Linked DNA regions of Homo sapiens: region 2 is linked to region 1. The links are contacts of gene promoters, found by promoter capture Hi-C in blood cells and fetal thymus (Javierre and others, 2016). All regions are on one chromosome and are shown on one strand. The core of a region is centred on a gene start or on the middle of the fragment in contact, and the rest is flanking DNA. Distances in the headings are between cores, read along the strand shown.

What was found. Contacts are between HindIII fragments. The CHiCAGO score rates a contact against its expected background, and 5 or more counts as called.
Region 2: a fragment that was not itself captured here is called in contact with the fragment with the promoter of CD320 in region 1 in 1 of 17 cell types (erythroblasts); the score reaches 5.3 in erythroblasts.

What each region holds. Positions count from the first base shown.
Region 1 is chr19:8,307,108-8,313,411 of GRCh38, forward strand. It overlaps CD320 (CD320 molecule), which reads right to left and starts at 1,251. Exons shown (of 5, transcript NM_016579.4): 1 at 1,042-1,251. The coding sequence starts at 1,183. NDUFA7 (NADH:ubiquinone oxidoreductase subunit A7) reads right to left here. Exons shown (of 4, transcript NM_005001.5): 4 at 4,177-4,488. The coding sequence ends at 4,398. RefSeq lists enhancers at 14-754, 741-870, 755-1,494, 1,550-2,079, 4,834-5,436 and silencers at 951-1,040, 1,015-1,353. The HindIII fragment of the contact is 66,850 bases long and covers 1-5,633 here.
Region 2 is chr19:7,937,986-7,944,853 of GRCh38, forward strand. It overlaps TIMM44 (translocase of inner mitochondrial membrane 44), which reads right to left and starts at 5,681. Exons shown (of 13, transcript NM_006351.4): 1 at 5,622-5,681; 2 at 3,117-3,212; 3 at 42-212. The coding sequence starts at 5,666. RefSeq lists enhancers at 4,702-5,245, 5,246-5,788, 5,415-5,784, 5,789-6,332, 6,333-6,868 and a silencer at 5,815-5,884. The HindIII fragment of the contact is 1,655 bases long and covers 3,848-5,502 here.

The DNA.
Region 1 (6,304 bases), core at 1-2,500:
ATGGTGAAACCCCATCTCTACTAAAAATACAAAAATTAGCCGGGCATGGTGACGGTGCCTGTAGTCCCAAGCTACTCGGGAGGCTGAGGCATGAGAATTGCTTAAACCCGGGAGGCGGAGGGTGCAGTGAGCCAACATTGCACTGCACTCCAGCCAGGGCGACAGAGGGAGACTCAAAAAAAAAAAAACAAAAACTTTTGTACTTGGTTAACGTGAACGCTGCCTCCTTAAAAAAAAACAAACAAAAAAAAACCCAGGAACATTTAACGTGAATGTCAGGGACTTTGGGATGAGTCCAGGGACCTAGAAGTGCGGAATGCACAAAGGAGCTGGGAAAGTGTGTGAGCCTGAGCCCAGGGCTGCAAGTTGGGAGTGCCTGAGTGCACAGGGAGGCCACTCCAACCCTCCAGCTGCCTCTAGGGGTATCAGAGAGGGAGCCCGTCCCCACTGGCCACCAATACCTCTTAGGCCAGGGCGAACACGTCCACGGGGGTATATTCAACTTGTGACCCCAGTCTCTGCGAGAGCCTGCAGTAGCATGGGGGGGAGAGACCTCGCGTTCTCTAAGGATGGAGGACAAAGGAGGAGAGACTGGGAGGGCAGGGACGGTTGCGGAACGGTCACAAGGCCTGGGCGCGAGGGTTTGGAAGGCAAAGGTGCGAGAGGCACCAGGTGACCCGTCCTGCGTGATTAGCGGTCGGACAATCTGAGCCTGCTAAGAGCTTTCCTGACCACGCTGGTATGAAGGGCGGCTTGGAGGTGACAATGGGGGACGACAGGGCACAGCAGGTGTGGAGACGGTGTGCAGGGCCGGAGCAAAACCGTTAAAGGCAGGTGGAGACACCCTCCTCCCCTCCCCCAGCATGGGGTCTTCCTAGCACCAGTGCGCGCCTTCCCACAAGCGATGAAGTCCAAGTCCACGTGCTGGGGGAGTGTCATGAACTGACGTGCGGTGCAGCCAGTGACTAGGCGTTGTCGGTGCGCGGCGGCGGGGCGAAGCCTCGCGAGGGGTGGGAGCCCGCGCTGCGGGGCGTCACTCACCTGCGGCCTGGGCAGAGGTCGGGGTGGAAAGCGGGCTCGCGGCGGCCTCCAGGCCTAGTCCGAGGCCGAGCAGCAGCAGCAGCGCCAGGCCCAGAGCCCCTGTTCGCCACGCTCCAACCTGCGCCATCCAACCGCCGCTCATGCTGTCCCCACAGCGGCGCCGGCCACGCGCTGTCCAGACCGCTCTCTTATCCCTGCGCACGCGCACGCGCGGGGTTGGGGCGGGGCCCAAGCCCCTGAGTTCTGCGGCGCCCGCGGCTACGCGTACCGTAAATGTCAGAATAGCAGGGAAAAGAGAATTAGAGGCCCGTCCCCACTTTCCCCAGTGACCAGATCAGTTGAAAGGTATGGAGCCCGCTTGAAGTTAGAAACTTCTGGGGATGGGAAGGAATTTGTTGGTGTTCATTTGCATTATTTCCCGTTCCAAATGAGGACTGCTGCAAATGTTACTGCCTCGTGATCTTCTTTAATATGGCAGCCACGCCCCTCAGGCACTCCGCATTTCCTCCCTCATCCCACTGCTTTTGTGGCGCCGACAGGTAATTTATTTTATTTACTTATTCTGGTTTGTTGTCCGAGTCCCCATAGAATGCTAGCTACTGGAGGGCAGGGATCTTCTGTTGCTCACTGCTTTATTCTCAGGATCTGACACATAGTGCTTGACTCATAGTAGGCTCTTAGTAAACATTTGGTGAGTAAATGAATAAATGAAACGTCCATTCTCGGAGTCGGGTTGCTTGGGGGGGAAAAAGGAAAGGAAATCAATTAATTAATTAAATTTAATAATAAAGGCCGGGCGCGGTGGGTCACGTGTGTGATCCCAGCATTTTGGGAAGCAGAGGCGGGCAGATCGCTTGAGCCCAGGAGTTCGAGATCAGCCTGGGCAACACAGCAAGTCCCCGCCCGCCTCAAGAAAAAAGAAAATTAGCTGGGCATGGTGGCTCTAATTTGTAGTCCCAGCTACTCAGGAGGCTGAGGTGGGAGAATCACTTGGGGCTGCACTCCAGCGTGGGTGACAGTGAGACCCCATTTGTTAGAAAAGTTGGCCGGCGCGCTGGCTCACGCCTGTTAACCCCAGCACTTTGGGAGGCCGAGGCAGGCGGATCACGAGGTCAGGAGTTCTAAACCAGCCTGGCCAACATAGTAAAACTCCCGTCTCTACCAAAAATACAAAAATTAGCCGGGTGTGGTAACATGCTCCTGTAGTCCCAGCTACTAGGGAGGCTGAGATGGGAGAATCGCTTGAACCCGGGAGGCGGAGGTTGCAGTGCGCCGAGACCACATCATTGAACTCCAGCCTGGGTGACAGAGTGAGACTCTGTCTCAAAAAAAAAAAAAAGTTGTGGTCATAAAACTTGGTTCAGATGCCGTCAGCGGCATGCCTTGCCTAGGGTCTTGCCCTCCTTGTGGCCTCTGCACACCCTGCCTAGTCTTTCCTTCCCTCCTGACCTTTCTGAATCTGATTCATCCTTTTGCCCCAAGCAGAATCCCACCTTCTCCAGGAAGGTGTTAGCCTTTGTAGGACCCACTCTGGGACACTGGTACCTGCTGCCTGTAGCCGTGGCCTTTCCCCTTCCAGAGGGCAGGGCGGTCTCAGCACCCTCTTGGTCCACAGCTGATCTTTTTTAGCTGCTGAAGGGTCTGGGGCTGTGCCCTGGGGAAGCCATGACACTCCCCTGCGTAGGGTCACTGGGTGGCTCCTGCAGCCAGACTTGGACACCCTCCCTTTGCAGATTTCTGTCTCCTCCCCAGGAACCAGCTGCCTTCCTTCTGGGGCGAATTCATTCTTATCCCACAGCCCCAGCATAATGGGATCTGGCTCAGGGAGGCCTTTCCTGATCTGCCCTAGGTTTGCCTTCCCTGTGAGCAGCCCTTACTGTCCTCTGCCTTCCCCGTTGAGCTGCAGGGTGACCATGGTCAAGCAGGAGCCTCAGTGGGAAGGTGCTGAGGAAGGTTCATGTGAGAAGTGGCTGTGGGAGCCCTCAAGAGATGGAAGTTAGGCCAGGCGCGGTGGCTCACGCCTGTAATCCCAACACTTCGGGAGGCAGAGGTGGGCGGATCACTTGAGGTCAGGAGTTTGAGACCAGCCTGGCCAACATGGCGAAACCCCGTCTCTACTAAAAATACAAAAATTAGCTGGGCTTGTGGCAGGCGCCTGTAATCCCAGCTACTCGGGAGGCTGAGGCAAGAGAATCACTTGAACCCAGGAGGCAGAGGTTATAGTGAGCCGTGATCGCGCCATTGTACTCTAGCCTGGGCAACAAGAGCGAAACTCTGTCTCAAAAAAAAAAAAGAAGTGAGAAGTCTGTGGCTGGCCTACTGAGTGTCCGCACATACACCCCTTACCCCACCTGACTGGTCTTCACAATCAATGCTCCCCAACAGCCAGCGGTCCTGGGAGTCCAACCTCCCAGAAGGATCACCCACTCCCACCACTCTCAAGGTCAGAGCCTGGCCTTTGGGGGAAAGGGCAGTGCTGTCTCCAGGGCCTCTGCACCCAGGGACAGTGTCTGTCCCACCCCTGGAGTGCCAACAGAGTTGGGAGACTCAGCACTGACTTCACCCCAAAATCCAAGTAAGCTGGGTATTGCTTAAAATCAGGGGCCAGGCGTGGTGGCTCACACCTGTAATCCCAACACTTTGGGAGGCCAAGGCGGGCGGATCACCTGAGGTCAGGAATTTGAGACCAGCCTGGCCATCTCTACAAAAAAAAAAAAAAATTAGCGGGTATGGTGGTGCACACCCGTAGTCCCAGCTACTCGGGAGGCTGAGGCAGAATTGCTTGAGCCCAGGAGGCAGAGGTTGCAGTGACCTGAGATCGTGCCGTTGCGTTCCAGCCTGGGTGACAAGCGCGAAAACTCTGGCTCCTGCAGCCAGATTTCTATCTCCTCCCCAGGAACCAGCTGCCTTCCTTCTGGAGCTAACTCATTCTCATCCCACAGCCCCAGCATAATGGTTTCTGGCTCAGGGAGGCCTTTCCTGATCTGCCCTAGGTCTGCCTTCCCTGTAAGCAGCCCTCACTGTCCTTTGCCTTCCCCGTTGAGCTACAGGGTGACCAAGGTCAAGCAGAGGCCTCAGTGGGAAGGTCTAAAAAATAAAAATAAAATCAGGCCAGGTGTGGTGGCTCATGCCTGTAATCCCAGCACTTTGGGAGGTCAAGGCAGGAGGATCGCTTGAGGCCAGGAGTTCAAGATCAGCCTGGGAAACATGGTGAGACTCTGTCTCTATTTTTTTATTTTTTAAAGTAAAACTAGAAGTGATACCTGAGCTCTACGTATTTGTCATAAATTAGGTCACATTCTCCCTGGAGGAAATCCAAGGAGGCAAAGTAGTCGGGTGGCCGTGAGGGTGCAGTGTCACAGGTAAGGCTGGTCCGAGGACAGCTCCCACCTCTTTATGGGAGGAGCTGGAGTCACCGCCTTCTTCTCAGTGGCAGCTACAGCAGAGCTGGAGGAGGGAAAGACTTCAGTGAGGGTTTCCAAAGAACAGTGTGGAAAGATCTGAGGGAGCCCACACCTGCCCCGGGACAAACACACCCACAGGGACTTTCTGGACCTGCAGGACAGACAGCAGGGTGTTCCAGAATGCCAACCCCTCCAACGCAGCCCCTCAGAGGATCAGCCAACGCCAGGTGGGAGCTAGCAAGCCTCCTCTCTCCCCTGAGCCCTGTATGAACCCCCTGCTGTGGCCCCCAGGCCCAGAACCCACTGTGGAGAGCTGGGCTCCTCCCTTCCCACTTTTGGTCTCCAGCGTACACAAGGCCCCCACCCCCATTCCTGCTGCCCCTCAAAACAGGATGCTGGCAAAAGGGCCAAGCGATCAGGTGACAATGGCCTCCAGCTATTCCTGCCTCAGACTGGGCAAGAACTGCATGGCAGGCGCTACTGTGTGGGCGCAGAGCCAGGAAGATGGGGCACCGCCCTCAGGAAGACTCAGGCTGGTGGGGCTGAGAATCCATGCGCAAATGGCAACTGCAAAACGCATCTCTGGCCCAGAGCTGGCCAAGAGGGAGCCCCCAGGAGACCCTGTGCCGGCAAGTCCAGGACGAGCACCCTCCCCTCTCACCCCACCCACCTGAGCCTGTGGAGCTCACACACTTCACAGCCTAAGCAAGAAAGGAAGCAGGAGGGTGGGGTGATGGAGGAGGCGCCCCAGGGGTGGAGGCACAGGACCTCCCAGGAGCCTCAAGGAAATGGAAAAGGCAGAAGTGGCCTCCCTGGGAAATGCACACATCTCTGGGGGCATGGCAAGGGGCTGTGTGGGAACAAGGTATCTTGCCACACTCTGGTGCTGGACTCCAGTGAATCAGAAGGTGACAACAAGGACCACTCCACTGAGTTCCTTCTTTTTGAGACAGACTCTTGCTCTGTCACCCAGGCTGGTGTGCAGTGGCACAATCTCAGTTCACTGCAACGTCCGCCTCCCAGGCTTGAGTGATTCTCTTGCCTCAGCCTCCCAAGTAACTGGGATTACAGGTGTGCACCATCACTCCCGGCTAATTTTTGTATTTTCTTTCTTGTTTATTATTTATGAGACAGGGTCTCACTTTGTCACCCAGGCTGGAGTGCAGTGGCGCAATCTCAGCTCAGTGAAGCTTCCTCGACCTCCCAGGTTCAAGAGATCCTTCTGCCTCAGCCCTTCAAGTAGCTGGGCCTACGGGTGCACACCACCACACCCGGCTAATTTTTGTATTTTTTGTAGAGATGGGGTTTCCCCATGCTGCTCAGGCTGGTCTTGAACTTCTGGGCTCAAGCGATCCACCCGCCTCGGCCTCCCAAAGTGCTGAGATTACAGGCGAGAGCCACAGCGCCCCTAACTTTTGTATTTCAGTAGAGGCAGGGTTTCGCCCTGTTGGCCAGGCTGGTGTCGATCTCCTGACCCCTAGTGATCCTCTCACCTCGGCCTCCCAAAGTGCTGGGATTACAGGCGTGAGCTACCATGCCCAGCCTAAAAAATTTCTAATAGAGACGGGGTCTCGCTGTGTTACTCAAACAAGTCTAGAACTCAAGCAATCCTCACACCTCAGCTTCCCGAGTCACTGGGATTACAGGCACACACCACTGCGCCTGGCCTATTCACAGAGTTCTTTTTTTTTTTTTTGAGACAGAGTCTCACTCTGTCACCCAGGCTGGAGTGCAGTGGCGCGATCTCAGTGAGCTGCAAGCTCCGCCTCCCGGGTTCACACCACTCTCCTGCCTCAGCCTCCCGAATAGCTGGGACTACAGGCGCCCACCACCACACCTGGCTAATTTTTTGTATTTTT
Region 2 (6,868 bases), core at 3,425-5,924, 370 kb before region 1:
CCAGCCTGGGTGAGGGAAAAAAAAGCAGCAAAGAAACTCACGTATTTCCTTCTGGCCTCCTGGAGCACGTCTGATTCTTCTAGCCTTCTGGCCTCGTCACGGAATTTTTTTATACTTTCTTTCATTTCTTTGTTTTTGGCTAATTCTTGTTTGACATTATCTAGCAAGCCGGACAGAAAGCCTTTTCTGTTTCCAGAAGAATATGATTTGGACTAGAAAGAATGTACAAGAAAAAAAATTTAAAGAACATAGTAGAACATAGAATGAAATGCCCCACAGAGGGACTCAGGGATTTTTTTAAATGTTCTCTTTTCGGTTGATATACATTTAATGATGATTAGCTATCTCTTTTATAATAATCATAAAAAACAAAGAAACAGCAGGTGATAAAAGTGTGGTATATCCAGACAACAGAATATTATTCAGTGCTGAAAAAAAAATGAGCTCTCAGCCACTTTAGGAGGCTGAGGAGGGAGGATTGCTTGAGGTCATGAGTTTTAAGACCAACCTGGGCAACACAGCACCCTATTTAAAAAACAGGCTGGGCGCGGTGGTTCACGCCTGTAATCCCAGTACTTTGGGAGGCTGAGGCGGGCAGATCACCTGAGGTCAGGAGTTCGAGACCAGCCTGGCCAAAATGGTGAAACCTCATCTCTACTAAAAATGCAAAAGTTAGCTGCGCATGGTGGTGTGTGCCTTTAGTCCCAGCTCCTCAGAAGGCTGAGGCACAAGAATTGCTTGAACCCAGGAGGAAGAGGCTGCAGTGAGCCAAGATTATGCCACAGCACTCCAGTCTGGGTGACAGAGCGAGACTCCATCTCAAATAAAATAAAATAAAATAATTTAAAAAACAAGCAAGAAATATGCTCTCAAGCTGTGAAAAGACACAGAGGAACCTTAAATGTATATTGCACTAAGTGAAAGAAGCCAATCTGAAAAGGCTACATACTGTCTGATTCCAACTATAGACCGTTCTGGAAAAGGCAAAACTAAGGGGACAGTAAAAGATCAGTGGTTGCCAGGGGTTTGGTAGGAAGAGGGTGAGATGAGTAGGGGGGAACACAGAAAAATGTTAGGGCAGTGAAACTACTCTTATGATACTGTAATCACAGAGAATGTACACCACCAAGAGGGAACCGGAAGGTAAACCATGCATTTATTAATAATAATGTATCAACATCCTGTCAATTGTGACAGATGCTCCACACTAATGCAGGACGTGAAGAATAGAAAACTGTGTGCCAGATGGGAGAGGAGGGGCATGGCAACTCTTTGGACATTCTGTTGGATTTTTCTGTAAACCTAAAACTGCTCAAAAGATAAAGCCTTGTGAAAGCAAAACAAGGCCGGGCGCAGTGGCTCCTGCCTGTAATCTCAGCACTTTGGGAGGCCAAGGTGGGTGGATCACTTGAGGTCAGGAGTTCCAGACCAGCCTGACCAACATAGTGAAACCCCCGTCTCTACTAAAAATACAAAAATTAGCTGGGCGTGGTGGTGGGTGCCTGTAATGCCAGCTACTCAGGAGGCTGAGGCAGGAGAATCACTTGAACCCAGGAGCCGGAGGTTGCAGTGAGCCAAGATTGTGCCACTGCACTCCAGCCTGGGTGATGGAATGAGACTCCATCTCAAAAAAAAAAAAAAAAAAGCAGGCTGGACACAGTGGCTCATATCTGTAATCCTAGCACTTTGGGAGACCGAGGTGGGCGGATCACTTGAGGCCAGGAGTCCGAGACAAGCCTGGCCAACATGGTGAAACCTTGTCTCTACTAAAAATACAAAAATTAGCCAGGTGTGGCGGCGCCTGCCTGTAGTCCCAGCTACTGAGGCAGAGGCAGGAGAACTGCTTGAACTCGGGAGGTGGAGGTTGCAGTGAGCGGTATCTCGCCCCTGCACTCCAGCCTGGGCGACAGAGTGAGACTCTGTTTCAAAAAAACAACAGAGAAACAGTTTAATGAATGATCATACAATAATCCAATCAGGCGGAAGGGGCCGCCTGTGGTCAACTTTTCCACAGCTGTGTTGGGTATACCAGCTCCAGGTGGGATCCCCCTCCCTGGCTCCTGTCAAGCTACAAGAGAAAGCTGCATCCAGCCTGGTGCTCAGGCCCCGTGGAGTCACACACCTGTGGTCCCAGCTACTCAGAAGGCTGAGGTGGGAGGATCGCTTAAGCCCAGGAGTTCAAGGCTGCAGTGAGCCGTGATAGTGCCACTGCACCCCAGCCTGGGCCACAGAGTGAGACCCTATCTTAAAAAAAAAAAAAAGCCCAGTGCTGCTCCCCAGGACAGGTGGCCAGGCCTCCTGTCAGCAGGCTGCAGTCCCATTCAGATGCCACCCTGGCCAGCCTTTCTCCAGGGGAAACCCAGGTTCTAAGTAAAATCATCCAGGACCACACAACCTTATCGCAGCCCTACCAGAGACTCTTGGGCTACAAACCATGGGAGTGAGTGTGTGGCGGGGGACTAGACAAGAAAGGGAAAGAGTCACAGGTCCTGTCCCACACCCACGATGGCCCCAGGACAGGACTGGAGAGGTAGGTAGCTGCCTCCAAGGAGGCAGCTGAGCTGAGGCTCTGGGCGCAGAGAGAGAGGGAGACAGAATGTACGCGCTGCCCGAATGTACAGGTCTGGGGAAGGGAGTCAGGTTTTGGGCTTCTGTCCTCACGATGCTGAGACACCAACAGAAGCACAGTTGAAGAGGAATGACCAGGAGAAACTGAGGTCTGGTTGTGACAAGGTGACTCTGTACCAATGATCAAAGGGCTATCTTCTAGAAAAGGAAACAGCTATGCTTGGTGAGGTACCCACGGGCAGAGGTCACAGGGAAGTAGAATTCAGTTCAATACAGGGGTCTCTTCCAAGCATTAGAGCCAACATAAAGGGCTATTCTGACAGCACCTTATCCCCTTACGACATCAAGCAAGAGGCAGGTCAAGTGTTTCTGGGACCGAGAAGGCCAGGCACACTGGGATCTGTCATTCTGAAAGCCCCGGACACAGAAGGCCCACCACCGAGATGGTACGAGCCACCTCTACAGCCCCACCCCTCCCTCCTGCCAATGGGATCTGAATTTTCGGGCCTCCCCTGTGTCTGCTGGCCCGAGCATCCTGAGTCACTCACCAGTGGCAGCTCTCCGCCCGGCCGGCGCATCTGATAGGTCGACCCATGGGGTAGGTTGTGGCTGGAAAGAAATTGGATTCCACTGCCGAGGCATCTCTAATTGGGGGGAGAGAAGAGAAAGATCCATTCTAACAAGAGGTTGACTGAGAAGTAAGCAGACCACACACAAAACAGCAGGGTCACCTGCAACTCACTGGCCATTTTTTTTTTTTTTTTGAGACGGAGTCTCAGGCTAGAGTGCAGTGCTGCGATCTCAGCTCCCTGCAACCTATGCCTCCTGGGTTCAAGCGATTCTCCTGCCTCAGTCTCCCGAGTAGCTGGAATTACAGGTATGCGCCATCACATCCGGCTAATATTTGTATTTTTAGGAGAGAAGCGGTTTTGCCATGTTGGCCAGGCTGGTCTCGAACTCCTGACCTCAGGTGATCCACCCCTCCCCCGGTTTTCCAAAGTGCTGGGATTACAGGCATGAGCCACTGCACCTGGCCTCACTGGCCAATTTGTATCTTATGCCTGATGCATGCCGGGCACTCTGTAATCTTCCCAAAGTCTGAGAAGCAAGCAGAAGCTGGTGGAAAGAGAAAATGCTGTGTCTGTACCTCCAGGGCCTACATCTATCCTCGTGCCCCTGAAACTGGGGGAAAACGGACAGGTCCCAGGAAATGCCAACCCATGGGGGGAAGAAGGCTAAATGTACAATTTAATCCCTTAGTCTGAAAGTAGGCACTCTAAGCTTCTATGCTAGTGGCAAGCAGTCTTCTCTTGCGAGCCCACCCCATTTCTGCCAGCCTCCAAAGATGAGAGAACTGGATTTTTCAGACACAAACATCGATAATGTGTTGCCCCAGGGACAACTCTGGAATAAACCTACAATGTCCTCCTCAAGGGTTGAGCTATAAACAGAGTAATTTAGGGGAGTCGCTCTGGGCAAAGACTGGGCTGATCTCATGTAAAAGGCACTTGCTGGCTGGGCGCGGTGGCTCACGCCAGTAATCCCAACACGTTGGGAGGCTGAGGTGGGAGGATCACCCGGTCAGGAGTTCGAGATCAGCCTGGCCAACATGGTGAAATCCCGTCTCTACCAAAAATACAAAAATTAGCCGGGCGTGGTGGCACACACCTGTAGTCCCACACACCTGTAGTATTGCTTAAACCCGGGAGGTGGAGGGTGCAGTGAGCCGAGATCTTGCCTTAAGTTCTGTGCAGGCACTGAGCTGGTGGCTCATGCCTGTAATCCCGATACTTTGGGAGGCTGAGGCGGAAGGATCGTTTGAGCTCAGGAGTTTGAGACCAGCCTGGGCAACATAGCTAGACCCTGCCTCCATAAAAAATTGGGGGAAAAAAAAAAAGCTCTGTGCAGGTCCTGTTCAGCTCGGCACCCTGTCACCCAGCACAGAACCTGGCGTGTTGATGTCAAAAGACCAGGTACAACTTCTCCACCATTTCCACATTTCCTGGGCCGTTTTTCTCTCTGTTCTCTGCCTCCTACCTCTGAGAACCCTATGCAACATCCCAAACTTACACAGGTGCCTACTATCTCCTGTATTTACTTGAGGATAACTTTTTTTTTTTTTTTTGAGACGGAGTCTCCCTCTGTTGCCCAGGCTGGAGTAAAGTGGCAGGATCTCGGCTCACTGCAATCTCCGCCTGCCGGGTTCAAGTGATTCTCCTGCCTCAGCCTCCCAAGTAGTTGGGATTACAGGAGCGCGCCACCATGCCCGGCTAATTTTTTTGTATTTTTAGTACAGATGGGGTTTTAGTAGAGATGGGATTTCACCATGTGGGCCAGTGGATCTCGAACTCCTGACCTCAGGTGATCCACCTGAGGCTGAGGCAGGAGAATCGCTTGAACCCGGAGGCAGAAGGAGGCAGAAGTTGCAGTGAGCCGAGATCGCGCCATTGCACTCCAGACTGGGCGACAAGAGCGAAACTCTGTCTCAAAAAAAAAAAAAAAAGAGAAAAAAGAAAAAACGAAGAGCACGAGCAATATGAAGTACTACTTTCTGAGTGCGCCTTACACGTCTTGACTGCCACTGCCCTGTGGACCCAAGAGCCTGCTAGGGCGCGAACCACCTCTCGCACATCCACAATGAACGTTAGAAGAAACGAGACAAGAAATGCTCTCGGTAGAGAACTTGGCATTTAACCGCGAGCTGTGAATTTCACGTTTTTTTGCCTTCCCCTCTACTTTTTTCCACGGGACGCCGCCGCCCCGGCTACCATTCTCTCTCCTGTATACGTGGAGTCTGATCAGAGGGCGAAGGGTGATCAGCTCCCTCCCAGGTCCCGCGCATCGCCGCCCCCTGCCCGGTAAGCTCGGTCCCCGCCCTCAGGCCACGCTCTGTGCCCCCTGTCCTGGCCTCTGCTACCCAAAGATCTAACCCCAAGCTTTCTAAGGAGCCCAAGCAAGGGTCGCGAAGGCCAAGGGTCTGAGAAGAAAGCCTTGGTGGCCGAAGGCCCAGAAGACCCCTAAGCTCGCCCTGCCAGCGCCGCACCGCCGCTCACCCGTGGACAGCGGCACCAGCCACTCCGCAGGGCCGCCGCCGCCATGTTGGAGAATCGTGTGACCTTCTCGCGGCGCGGCCCGGTTGCGTCATCCGCCGCTTCGGCCTAGAGCCGCGCAAGCCTGAGAAAAGCCGCTCCAGGAGCGGGGTTTCGGGTAGGGAGAGCCCTCCGATTGGGTCCGTCATAGGGCGGGGCATTAAAAGGGTAGGGAATGCCTAGAGAGCTTGACCTCTGATAGGGCAGTGTTTTGGAAGGACGGGGCCCGTGACTGGATGTGGCCCGGGGGAGGGCACTCCTGGGAGGGTCAGATCTGTGATTGGGCGCGACTACGAGGGGGCGGAGCCCAGGGGCGTGTATTCCGTCACTTGCGGTGATTCGGCTACAGAACGCGCCGGGCGCTGGTGGCAGGTGGTACAGGCACGTGGATCCACCGACCACAAGGACGGATTCGATTGGATTCTGATTGACCGGCGGACCAGCTCCAGAGTAATTGTCTATGGCTGCCCCTGCAATGACTGATTGATTGACAATGGCTGAGAGACCAGCAAGTGAGTCGCTCCGAGAAAGCGAAGGAGCCCACTCTTGTGCGGCGCTTTGGGAAGACGCCTGTTGGTTTTGACCCCGAATAAGAAGAGGAAGCTGAGAGCGGGCTGACTGTGGTCCAGTCCTACTTCGATTCAGTGTGAACTGACACTCTGATCTGAAGACGCTCAGGCCTTTGTCATTTCAGCACCCCAGATGCTATTTTCCATTCGAAGAATGCCGCCACCAGGTGGCGGTATTTTAACATGGCCATGCAATCCGGGTATGAGGAGGAGGGTTGGTCCCCTGGGAGAGCTAATGTATGTTGCTGTTGCTGTTTGTCTTATTGGATCCTTTTTTTTTTTTATAGAGCCAGAGGCTTGCTCTGTCACCCAGGCTAGAGTGCAGTGTCGTAATCTAGCTCACTGCAGCCTCCAATTCCCAAGCTCAAGCGATCCTCCTGCCTCAGCCTCTGAGTCACTGGGATTACAGGCGTGAGCTACCGCACCCGGTCTTTTTGCATTACTAACCTGTGATATGGGTTTATGGGACTTCATTATTTCAAAGGGAGGCAGCTTGGCCCCGGAGAGCATGCATTCCTGGCTTCTGCGATGGATAGACTTGTGTTCTCCATCTCAGGAGCTCCCCCTCAAGGTGGGGGTAAGAGATGAGGGCTTCCACTCTGGCTTTGTTCGAGATGTCTTGATGCCAAGAGGAGCAAACTA